Linked DNA regions of Homo sapiens: region 1 is linked to region 2. Evidence: promoter capture Hi-C in 16 types of primary human blood cells and fetal thymus (Javierre and others, 2016). All regions are on one chromosome and are shown on one strand. The core of a region is centred on a gene start or on the middle of the fragment in contact, and the rest is flanking DNA. Distances in the headings are between cores, read along the strand shown.

Region 1 (5,143 bases), core at 753-3,252, 86 kb before region 2:
AATATATTGTACTTCTTAAATATGCTATGAAGACAAATCCATGTGGGTATTTAAGTGATTCTGGAGGATTCTATTTAGGTATAAACAACAAATTAACTAATTTGCTGCATTTTGTGGACAACAAACAAATAGTACTTTATTATGGATGCTGCATGTTTTCCCCATTATTGGAAGTGATGGTTTCTCGATATACTAACAAAATAGAGAAGGCAATAAGATTTGCACGCTTTACATATGCGTTTATTTTTCAATTAATAGCTGATGTTTAAAGCTAATAATGACTCTGAGAAGTACAGTTTTTCCTGTTTGTGGACATTTATGTTGATTCCCAAACAGAACTGGCTTCCACTATATGGAGAGCAATCGCACAACATTGATTGGCTTTAAATTATTGTCAATGTACACACACTAAAGTGGGCACAGTATACTTTCAGAGGATACAACCTTTAAAACAAATTTGTGTTTCATCATACCATGTGGCAGACAGTAAATAATCTTTTTTTTTTTTTTTTTTTTTTTGAGACGGAGTCTTGCCCTGTCACCCAGGCTGGAGTACAATGGTGAGATCTTGGCTCACAGCAACTTTTGCCTCCCAGGTTAAAGCGAATCTCCTGTCTCAGCCTCCCGAGTAGCTGGGATTACAGGCATGTGCCACCACACCCAGCTAATTTTTTTTTTGTATCTTTAGTAGAGATGGGGTTTCACCGTGTTGGCCAGGCTGGTCTCAAACTTCCGACCTCAGGCTATCTGCCCGCCTCGGCCTCCCAAAGGGCTGGGATTACAGGTGTCAGCCACCACGCCCAGCCAGTAAATAATCTTAAAGCTTAAATAAACTCAGTGAACATGTTGTAGTATTGTGTGGAATGTATTCATTTATATCATTGATGAATTCTAGATTTGTACAGCTTCTTTTCTCCAGTTACTCCTTTCTCACACTGAAGCAGAATTTCTCAAAATGGGTGGGTTCAGGAGGGAAGCACTGAACCACTGGTGAACCATGGGGTGAAGTCAGTGCGTGGGTTCAGAAGGAAGCATAGGTACCATTTCTCAAAAAGTATCCTTGCCTTTGGTGGATTACTATCTGTAATTCACTGTCATAAATTCTTAAGTACATGACCAGAGTGGTTTTGCTTCAGTAAGACAACCTGACTTCTACATGGTAAACTCCTGCTAACCCAGCTCTTCAATCAGACCCAGTGGGCTTCATAAGCTTTCTCTTGAGAATCTTTAGCCATGGCTCTGTCTGATTACAAGTCTTCTTGCCGGCTATCTCAACATGTTCAATACATTATTTTCTCTGTTTATCTTGCATTCGCTCTCATTGTCTTTTGCTTTACCTCTCCATTGGCCTTAGCTATGACCCGTGAAATCTTGGAAGGCTCTTCCACCCCACTCTTGTCTGATGCTAGCTGCAGCAACCACCTCTTTCCTGGAATCCTTGAATTAACCCCTTTCATTTTGACACTTGTGCCACATCCAACAAGATTTAAGATAATTTGGAAAAGCAAACATAACAAAAGGCAGAGCAATTTGGAATGAAAACAAAAACAGAACAGAGGTCACCAGCAAAGAGTAAAAAGAGTAAACATGACCAAATACCTGAGATTATTTAATTATCATAATTGGGCATGAAGTTTGATTTGCCTGGAAGCAAAGACATTTTTTAGTTACAAAATTTAAATGATACCAATTCACTTAACTTTTTTTTTTTTGCATGTAAAAGAGGTGCTCTCATAAGGTACATTAAAAATCAATGAAAAACTACTATGGTTTTACCAAAAATAGCTCTAAAATTGTGTTTAAAGAGATGATGTTTTTACTGACCCAAGAGCTGAATATTATATTATAAATTTATAAAATATTTCTTATGGATACTGTATTAATATTTTTTAGATTTCCTATTGTTCAATGATCTACTTAATTATGGGAATGGGACTTTGAGAATCTAGGTGAATGGGTGGATAATATGCCAAATAGGCTCTTCAATGAATGACCTGTCAATGGTAGATCCTGGGTGACAGTCAATAATATTTTCCATTTCTAACCTAAAGCACAAAGATCCTTGTTGTTGGTCAAATTCAGAACTATAGTTTTAAAAACCCCAGATGTTAGTGTAAGTAATTTTATTATTTTGCTGTAGAATTTTGAGAGCAGATTTTATACTTCACCTGAATTTCAAGCCACTTTTTCGAGATACGAGTAAGCAAAGCAGAGGACATTTGTTAGAGCTAATATATATATTTTTTCAGAATGTGTAAATGTAATTGATGGAGTTAGATTGATGAGACCTAGGTTTGGCTTGAGCTCCACTGCTTGCAAATCATGCGGCATTAGAAAAGCAATTCAATCTTTTCTGGTTGTGTCAATCAATGACATAGATCCTCTAAGCAACCGTGGGAGCATTAAGTTTTTTAAAAGGGAAACAGTAGGTATAATTCAAAGTCAAACTTTACATGAATGTAAGTGCTGGGGTTTATATTGAGGTTGGAGAATATAATGGATGAGATTGGTGGGGGTTGAATCCCACGATTCAAAAAACTCAAGGAAACTTCACAGCTTCTGCTTTATTACAGAAGACAAGTGAAAAGTGTCTCTATCTAAATAAACTGTGCAGTTAATGTGGACAACTAAGAGCATAAACTTAATATGCTAAAGTTCAATTAAAACACACACTGAATTTCCAGCGTTTCAATTTTAATGTTATGTAATAACAAGACCACCCAAAAGGTGGCACTAAAAAGCAGATATGTGACCTCCAAGTAAGTAGAATTTGGTGAGATAAAAGAAATGGTAGAGAAGCTTTAGTCTTCTTTTAGGTTTAAATACTTAAATTGCTTCTTAGTAACTTGTAAATATTAAGCTGTCGATATTTTGAAGAAAAGCTGCTATTTTCAATCCAACTTAAAGCATTTGAAATTCATTTGTCTTGCAGCTATGTATATTTAATTTAATATCTTTCAGCCTACCAAACTAGTGATCTTTTTTTGTGTGTAATCATCAGAGACATTGGCATATGCGGGCTAATCTGATTTTCTTTGGAGTCATGCTTGTACCATAAGTTTTGAATGAACAGATGCCCTTATCTGAATCCAACTTCACACTACTGTGTGCCTCAGGGTTACAGAAAATAGACTGTTTAATGAATGACCTGTCAATGGCAGATCCTGGGTGACAGTCAATAATATTTTCCATTTCTAACCTAAAGCAGAGAGATCCTTATTGTTGGTCAAATTCAAAACTGTGGTTTTGAAAACACGAGACGTTAGTGTAAGTGGGTAATTTTGCTATTTTGTTGTGGGATTTTGAGAGCACATTCTGTACCTCACCTAGAATTCAAGCCGCTTTATCAAGATGGTAAGTAAGCAAAGCAGAGGACATTTATTAGAGCTATTTTTTTTTCAGAATGGGTAAATGTAATTTGATGGAATTAGAATTATGAGACCTAAGTTTGATTTGAATAGAAGCTGTGAAGTTTCCTTATTAGAGTTTTTTGAATCATGGGATTCAACTCCTGCCAACCATATCCATTATATCCCCTCCCCCACTATAAATCCCAGCACTTACATTCATATTGACTTTGAATTATACCTACTCTTTCCCTTTTAAAACACTTAAAAATCAGTAGGCTCCTATGGCTGCTTAGAGGACCTATATCATTGATTGACACAACCAGAAAAAATTAAACTACTTTTCTAATGCCTTAGCATTTTCTAATGCTAGTAGAGAATGTTATGTTCAAACCAATTTTTTTTTTTTTTTTTTGCCTGCAATCCCAGCACTTTGGGAGGCTGACGTGGGTGGATCATTTGAGCTCAAGAGCTGGAGATCAGCCTGGGCAACATGACGAAACCTGTATCTACAAAAAAATACAAAAACTGCTGCGTGTGGTGGCACATGCCTGTAATCCCAGCTACTTGGGAGACTGAGGCAGGAGAATCACTTGAACCTGGGAGGTGGAGGTTGCAGTGAGCCAAGATTGCTCCACTGCACTCCAGGCTGGGCAACAGAGCAAGACTCCATCTCAAAACAAAAACAAAAACAAAAACTATCTGGGTCCGGTGGCTTGTGCCTATGTTCCCATGTTCCCAGCTACTCCAGCAGCTGAGGCCAGAGGATGGCTTGAGCCCTTGGGAGGCAGAGGTTGCAGTGAGCTGGGATCATGCCACTCCAGCCTGGGTGACAGAGTGAGAATCTGTCAAAAAAAAAAAAAAGAATATAATGCATTCATATTGACATATTTTACTTCAAACTGATAGAATTTTACAGAATTTTCTATGAAAAGTTTATCAGTAGCTACACATTCTAATAATGTATTAATATCACTGAATATCAGGTCTAAAGTAGTAGTTGTTTTATAGTAACAGTAAAAAAAGAATGCTACTATAAAGGTTAACAGTGAATATATTTCAGTAAATAAAACAATATGCTACCTTTCTGAGGTTATTTGGGAGATGCAACAAATTGTGCTCCATTTACCCATTCAGCTTCAATTAAGAAACGTAATAAATTAGTTCACGTACAGAGAATAAAATATAATCACCCTTATTACAGTCAAAATTGAAATTAGAGAATGTGTTTTGTATCTGGGAGCATGTGGACTTCTGCACCGAAGGCCTGATTTATATAGCCTTATTCACCTTGTCACAGCAGTGCTTGACTGGGCAGGCTCTACCTATGAAAACAGAAGTCACCCACAGAGAAGTAAAGTAGAACATGGGAGCAGCTGTTTCTTAAGAGAAACAGCGAAGGAAGATGTGGGTTCCACTTGCCCAGGTCTTCCTTCTAACATCACCTGTGAGATAAGCCCCTCCCAGTTATATAAACTATTTGGAAATGAGTGAGAAAGCAAGGGAAGCTGGGAGTATGAAGGAATATTTTCCACAGAGAGGAAAACACAAGGAATAAAGAAGTACTTCCTACCCATGCACGCATGGTCTTTCTAATGAAGGGGTTCTTGTCCATTATGAAACAGCCTTGAGTATTCCCTGATGACACAGTGCTGGAGCACAAGGGAAGTTTATCTTGCACAATGCCTGTTATTTTAGAATTCTCTCTAGGAGAATGAAAAGGCACTTGAAGCAGTGAAACAGCAAAACCAGTGCTATGGTCTGAACGGTTTGTTTGTTTTCCTACTCCCCTAAAT
Region 2 (5,221 bases), core at 1,790-4,289:
CTGCAATCCATCATTTAATTTCCTATCCTTGTTCTGTTTGCTTCATTTCATACCATGATTTTACATAATACTTCAAAGTTTGTAATCCTTAATCTATTCTGGATGGGTCTCAAATACTTAAAGAATGAGCTTTAGAAGTCAATTCTTACCAGGCATTTAAGAGGCACAACTTAAAACTGCCAATCAGAGTCGAGTTGTGACAACTGAGGCTTAGAACTATGCGCAAGCCAGGCCCCAAACCAACCCAGACTTTTTGTGTAAATGTCACACTAACGTAGTGGTCAAATACTGTGTAAATAGATACTGCGTTCCTCCCTGAGCCTCTGAGCCTTAAAGATCCATTTCTTTGCTTCCCCATAACCATCTTTCTTAAAAGGGGGAAATGCTGGGAAAACATTTCTTCCTTCTGTCTTGACTCTTCGCCCAGATCTTCTGCACTGGGGCTTCGGAAACATATTCATCCAAAACCCAAACACGCAAACGGGATGTGACCCTCCCTAGGCGGCGGAGTTGGCCTGGGCAGTGCTTGCGACGCACTGGTCGACTAAGCAAAGGAGTTGTTAAGGAACCTCACAAGTTTGTCCTCTCATCTGATTGGGTCTCTGTACCCTGCTGGCCCGCCCACATTCCTTCCTTCCCAGGAACTGAGATTCCAAGGTGGACATGTAAGAACTCCATTAGGAATCCAACCTGGAAAAAGAGTCCTTGAGAAAGTTTTCTCATCCTCTGTGTAACAGAAGGGATTCTAGTAAAAAGGTGTGGACACTTACAAAAGAAGGTCATCGGATAACAGTGAGTACCGTGAGTGAACCATCCAGCCCTTTCCATTAGGTGGGACAAGGTTATATTTTATTTTCACTGGAAAGAAGAAGACCCATGATCCCAAAGGCAACTTTGTTTTCCTTCCTTTTCCCCATTTAACTGTATCATTTCCCCAAGCATCCTTGTGCCTTCTTATGTTTACGTTCCTATGCCACAACACCTCAGACTAGATGACATGCAGCACTACTGGGTCTTCATCATCACCTAAGCAAGTCTTGGCATTTAAGGCAAAAATTTCTGCGGGGCTAACGTGAATACAGGAGCAGAGTTGAAGGCTGGTTGGATTTCCTGCAAGAAGCAGTTAAACACATCCACAGCTGCAGGAGGTTTGAGGGAGAAGCAAAGCCACCAGCAAGATTCCCTTCTACCTACCTCCTGATATCAGCGCTGGGACCCCCGCATCCCGGCTGGACCTACCTCCCGAGTAAACAGGATAGCTGCATCGTAGTGCTCCTCATGGTCATCTCCCAGCTGGTTGTGTTGGTGCTGCCACTTGCAAAAGTTCTTGAGTGTGGTGGCAGCGTTCTTGCTCACTTCCAGGCTCTTGTCCTTGTCGCCTAGCACCACCACCTTCACCACGGCCAGGCGGATGTGGTTCTCGATGCTAGCATGGCTGTACAGCCTATTGGCGATGGAGGCCAGGGTCAGCAGGTAATGCTGCAGGCCCCGGCCATACAACCGCGCCATGGACGCGTCAGCCACCAGAAGCAGCTCCACCTGGCGGGCCCGGGAGATGGAGCGGCGCCGCCGCCGCCACCACGTCTGCGGTCCTGAGCCCCCAGCGGGCGAGAGAGCGGACTGGTCCAAGAGCTGCGAGGCCAGTGCTGCGCGTCCGCTCGGGTTGCTGTGCGCCGGAGCATGCTCGTGGGCCTCCGGTGTGGACGCGGGGGTTTCGCAGCTGGCGCGCGGCGGCAGGGCCTCGAAGCTGAAGCCCTCGCGGGTGTAGACGTGCAGGATCCGTGCGGACCCATCCCCGTACACGCGCCCCTTTTCTTCCTCCGCCCAGGGTCCGCGCAGCAGTGGCTTTAGGGTGTAGCGCGCGTGCTTGACCGCGAAGAAGCCGTCGAGACCCCCACAGAGGTCAAAGACAGCCAGAGAGCGGGGACTACCGTCCACTGTGCCCCGATAGAAGCAGTGGCTCCGGTGGCGCCAGGGCGCACTCGTCCCGCCTCCTGCGGGCACGAAGCCAGCAATGCCCACCGAACCATCTCGCTCCAGGTCCAAGAGGAACCTCCGGCCGCCCGCGTAGACGAGGTAGCCCACCTTGCCGCCGCCGGAGTAGAGTTGGTCGATGTTCTGCACCAGCCCCTTGCTCCTGCGCCGCTGCGCCAGGGGGTGCGGGTGGCCGGGAGGCTCGGCTCGCTCCTGCACCTCCTCCCCCTGCCGCCGGCGGGGCTGGGCGGCTGCTGCAGCAGTCGGAGGCTGCCCGGCTTTATCCTGGGCAGGTGTCGCGGCGGGGCCGACCGCGGCCAGGGGCAGGCGGAACGCGCACAGCAGCAGGGACGCCCACCCGAGCAGCATAGTGCGCTGCCCGCGGGGAGGGGCTGCGCGACTGGGACTTTATGGGTATTTGTTATTTGCTATGAAGTTAACGGGGCGGGGGATGGGGACACACACACACTTGCTTGCAGGATTGAGTCAAGTGTCGGAGGGAGGGGGGCCCGGCAGCAGCGCCAGCCTGTCCGGGCTGCGGTGCCAGCGTGCGAACTTTTCTTTGTTGCTTGGGAAAATGTTTGGATTCGTGCTCCAGAAAGAGGTGGGGTGGGGGGGGGGGGAAAGAAAAGATTAAAAAAAAAAAGTCGGATAGTGGAGATTCAGCAAATACGGGAAAAGGAAAAAAACAAAAACCAAAAAACCACCAAATGCAGGCACGATCGCTGTTTCAAGAAAAGTAAGGAAAGGTACCGCGCACCGGGCTGGCAACTGGTGCGCGCAGCCTCCCGCCCCCGCGCTGCGCTGGACAAGCCGGCTGTGGAGGTTCCAAGCTCCGGGGCCCACTTCCTTTCTTATTTTGTGGGTTTCCTTGGCTCTGCTGGGACCAGGAGGAAGGGAAGAAAGAGAGGGGAAAAAGCCGTAAAAATTAAAACAAAAATGCAGGGGGGCAGCCTGAGGCGAGCTGGTGAAGCGGCGTGTCTGTGTCCCTTCGGCTGCGGTCTCCTCCTGCCCGCCGTCATCCCCAGTCGGCAGCTGCGAGCGCCGAGAGCAGCGCGAGCGCTGTGAAGATGCGAGGAGGTGGAACAATGAATTTATAGCGGCATGCCATCCTGCAATGGCAATTTCAACAGTTCGTCACTGCACGCTGCCTCTTAAAGGGAGAGCTTCCCCCACCACTCCCACCCTTCCCAGTCCGCGCCTAATCAGATGGGGGAGGGCAAAAGAGGAGGGTGATCGAGGAAAGGGAGACGAAGTAGGAGGAAGGGACTGGGACCCGGCGAGGTGGTAGGAGGGGAGAGGGGAAAATAAAAAGTAATGGGGCAAGAAAAACAGATTTCCTTGGCCACTTTTAAAGCCACAGCGGCTCCGGGTCTGTCTGATATTTCACAACCAATTGGGGTTGGCTAACCTTGGCTTACCTCATCTCCTGAACGGGTGTTTTGGTTAAAGTTATTGAGACGTTTCAAGTCTCTCCCTGCCTCCTTCTTGCCTGCTTTTCTCGCCCTCGGTGGGAAGTTCCTGCCGCAAGTTTTTCCCCTTTGCACACCCGTGCGCTCTGGCCTCGCAGACCGTGCAACTCCATCCACCAGCCAGAGCTTTTCAGCTTCCCGTGCGTCCCCTAACCACCGCGTTCCCTTCGCTTCCTCCCCTCCGTCCCGGCACCCGGTTTCCTCCCTCCCCATTCTCCAGCCTCTTGATGCTTTGACGCTCGCCGGATTCGGGCTCCGGGTGACTAACTTCTCCCGGCCACCAGCAGAGCGGCTGGACAGCCAGAGAGCCCAGGGCGCTTCCTGGCGCGCTGCGGTACCCCGGGGCGAGAACGCCCGCCGCTTGGGAACTCCGCAGCTTTGTGTGCGAACGGCGGGCTCCCAGCTTTCTCCAGCACGCCTTTCGTCAGGGTCCACAATCTGTCCCTTACTCCCAGCCCACTGGAACTTCCTTTGCTCTAAAAAGGCAGAGCGAGAAAGAGTTAACTCTTAGAGGGAATTCCGCTCATTTTTTTTCCCTGAAAGATTTTAAAATTTTGCGCTCATACTTTTATTTTTTGCTTAAATGATACTTTAATAATAAATTCCTATATCTGTTTTTGTCTCTTCTAAAGCAACCACTTATCGCCATAGGCCTTGACCTACCTTCATTCTCAGAAATTCCTTTTAGAAGAAAAAGAATACTTTTGGCGGAAGGAAGATTGGTGCTTATTAGTACGCGGGTGACATTATCACTGCTACTCGTTTCCTCTGACCTCTTTGTTTCCTCTAATTATCATTCTAAGAAGGGAGAAGGAAAACCCGACGACTTATGGTTAGAAGGTCTACCTTCTACTGTAGGGGTAAGAGCTCCCTCCATGCCCAAATTATTCTTCAGGCTAATTAACTAATGCACCAGTGAAAAATGAATGTGGTGTAATTTGTACATTTCCATCTTTTTCTACGTTTAACTTTGGCTACGCTGGGGATAGCAGGGCGGGTGCCTTAATGGGGCCCCAAGCTGATCGCTTTCTCTGGGAGGGAACCATGAGGGTCCAGAGCTTGATGGAGGTTCTTAGAGTGGCAATAATCCTCTGGAAGGAATTTCAGAATTGCCCGGCAACAATACCCATTGCCGTGTGCCTGGGAACACCCTCTGGAGTCTTGTGAGGGGCAGATGTATCATCTTGTTTTAACTTATAAATAAAGAAATCACTGGGGCCTTAGGGACACCCAACAGCCCCTGATAGATTCTGAAATACATCAGGACCAGGGAGGAAGTTACTATTGCTGAAGGCCATTGCTTTATAATTCCACAATGCCTCAGCCTCTCAGTGGCCAGTTGACCCAGGCCAATGCTAACAGCTGGATGGGTCAGAATAGGAGGTTCCAGCCATTTTCTCTATCCCACCAAGGCCTTTGAGCCTTGCATTAGCCGTTCTCTTTTGTGGTCCTTGCTTTGCACCTACAAATAGCAAACTTTTATCTTTTTAACCAGTTACAGTGAAAAGGAGTCCAATATTTGGCACTAAACACCATTTCTAATACAACCTTGATTCAATAAATTTAACAATTTTGTCATTGTTCATGCCAAAGAATCATTTTAATAGGCATTTTAGGTGACAGTGGTTAAAATTTGTTAATTACAATTATTTTCATTCACAGATAGATTTTGTTATTTAGGATTTCAGGAAATTCCAACAGATTCTCTTTTCTTTGATGGTCTTGAACTCATAACCTCCAGGGATTCTCCCACCTGATGAGACACAGTGACGGCT

Evidence for each region. The method cuts DNA at HindIII sites, captures the fragments that hold promoters and counts their contacts. A CHiCAGO score of 5 or more calls a contact.
Region 1: a fragment that was not itself captured here is called in contact with the fragment with the promoter of ADAMTS5 in region 2 in 1 of 17 cell types (M2 macrophages); the score reaches 5.3 in M2 macrophages.

The regions. Positions count from the first base shown.
Region 1 is chr21:26,878,970-26,884,112 of GRCh38, forward strand. All of the region lies in intron 1 of LOC105372760 (a long non-coding RNA gene), which reads left to right. Among named protein-coding and RNA genes, the nearest start is that of ADAMTS1, 36 kb to the left of the region's middle. The HindIII fragment of the contact is 1,589 bases long and covers 1,209-2,797 here.
Region 2 is chr21:26,964,049-26,969,269 of GRCh38, forward strand. It overlaps ADAMTS5 (ADAM metallopeptidase with thrombospondin type 1 motif 5), which reads right to left and starts at 3,040. Exons shown (of 8, transcript NM_007038.5): 1 at 1,240-3,040. The coding sequence starts at 2,343. LOC124905050 reads right to left here. Exons shown (of 3, transcript XM_047441063.1): 2 at 3,396-3,922; 3 at 2,608-3,036. The coding sequence ends at 2,608. The HindIII fragment of the contact is 6,499 bases long and covers 1-5,221 here.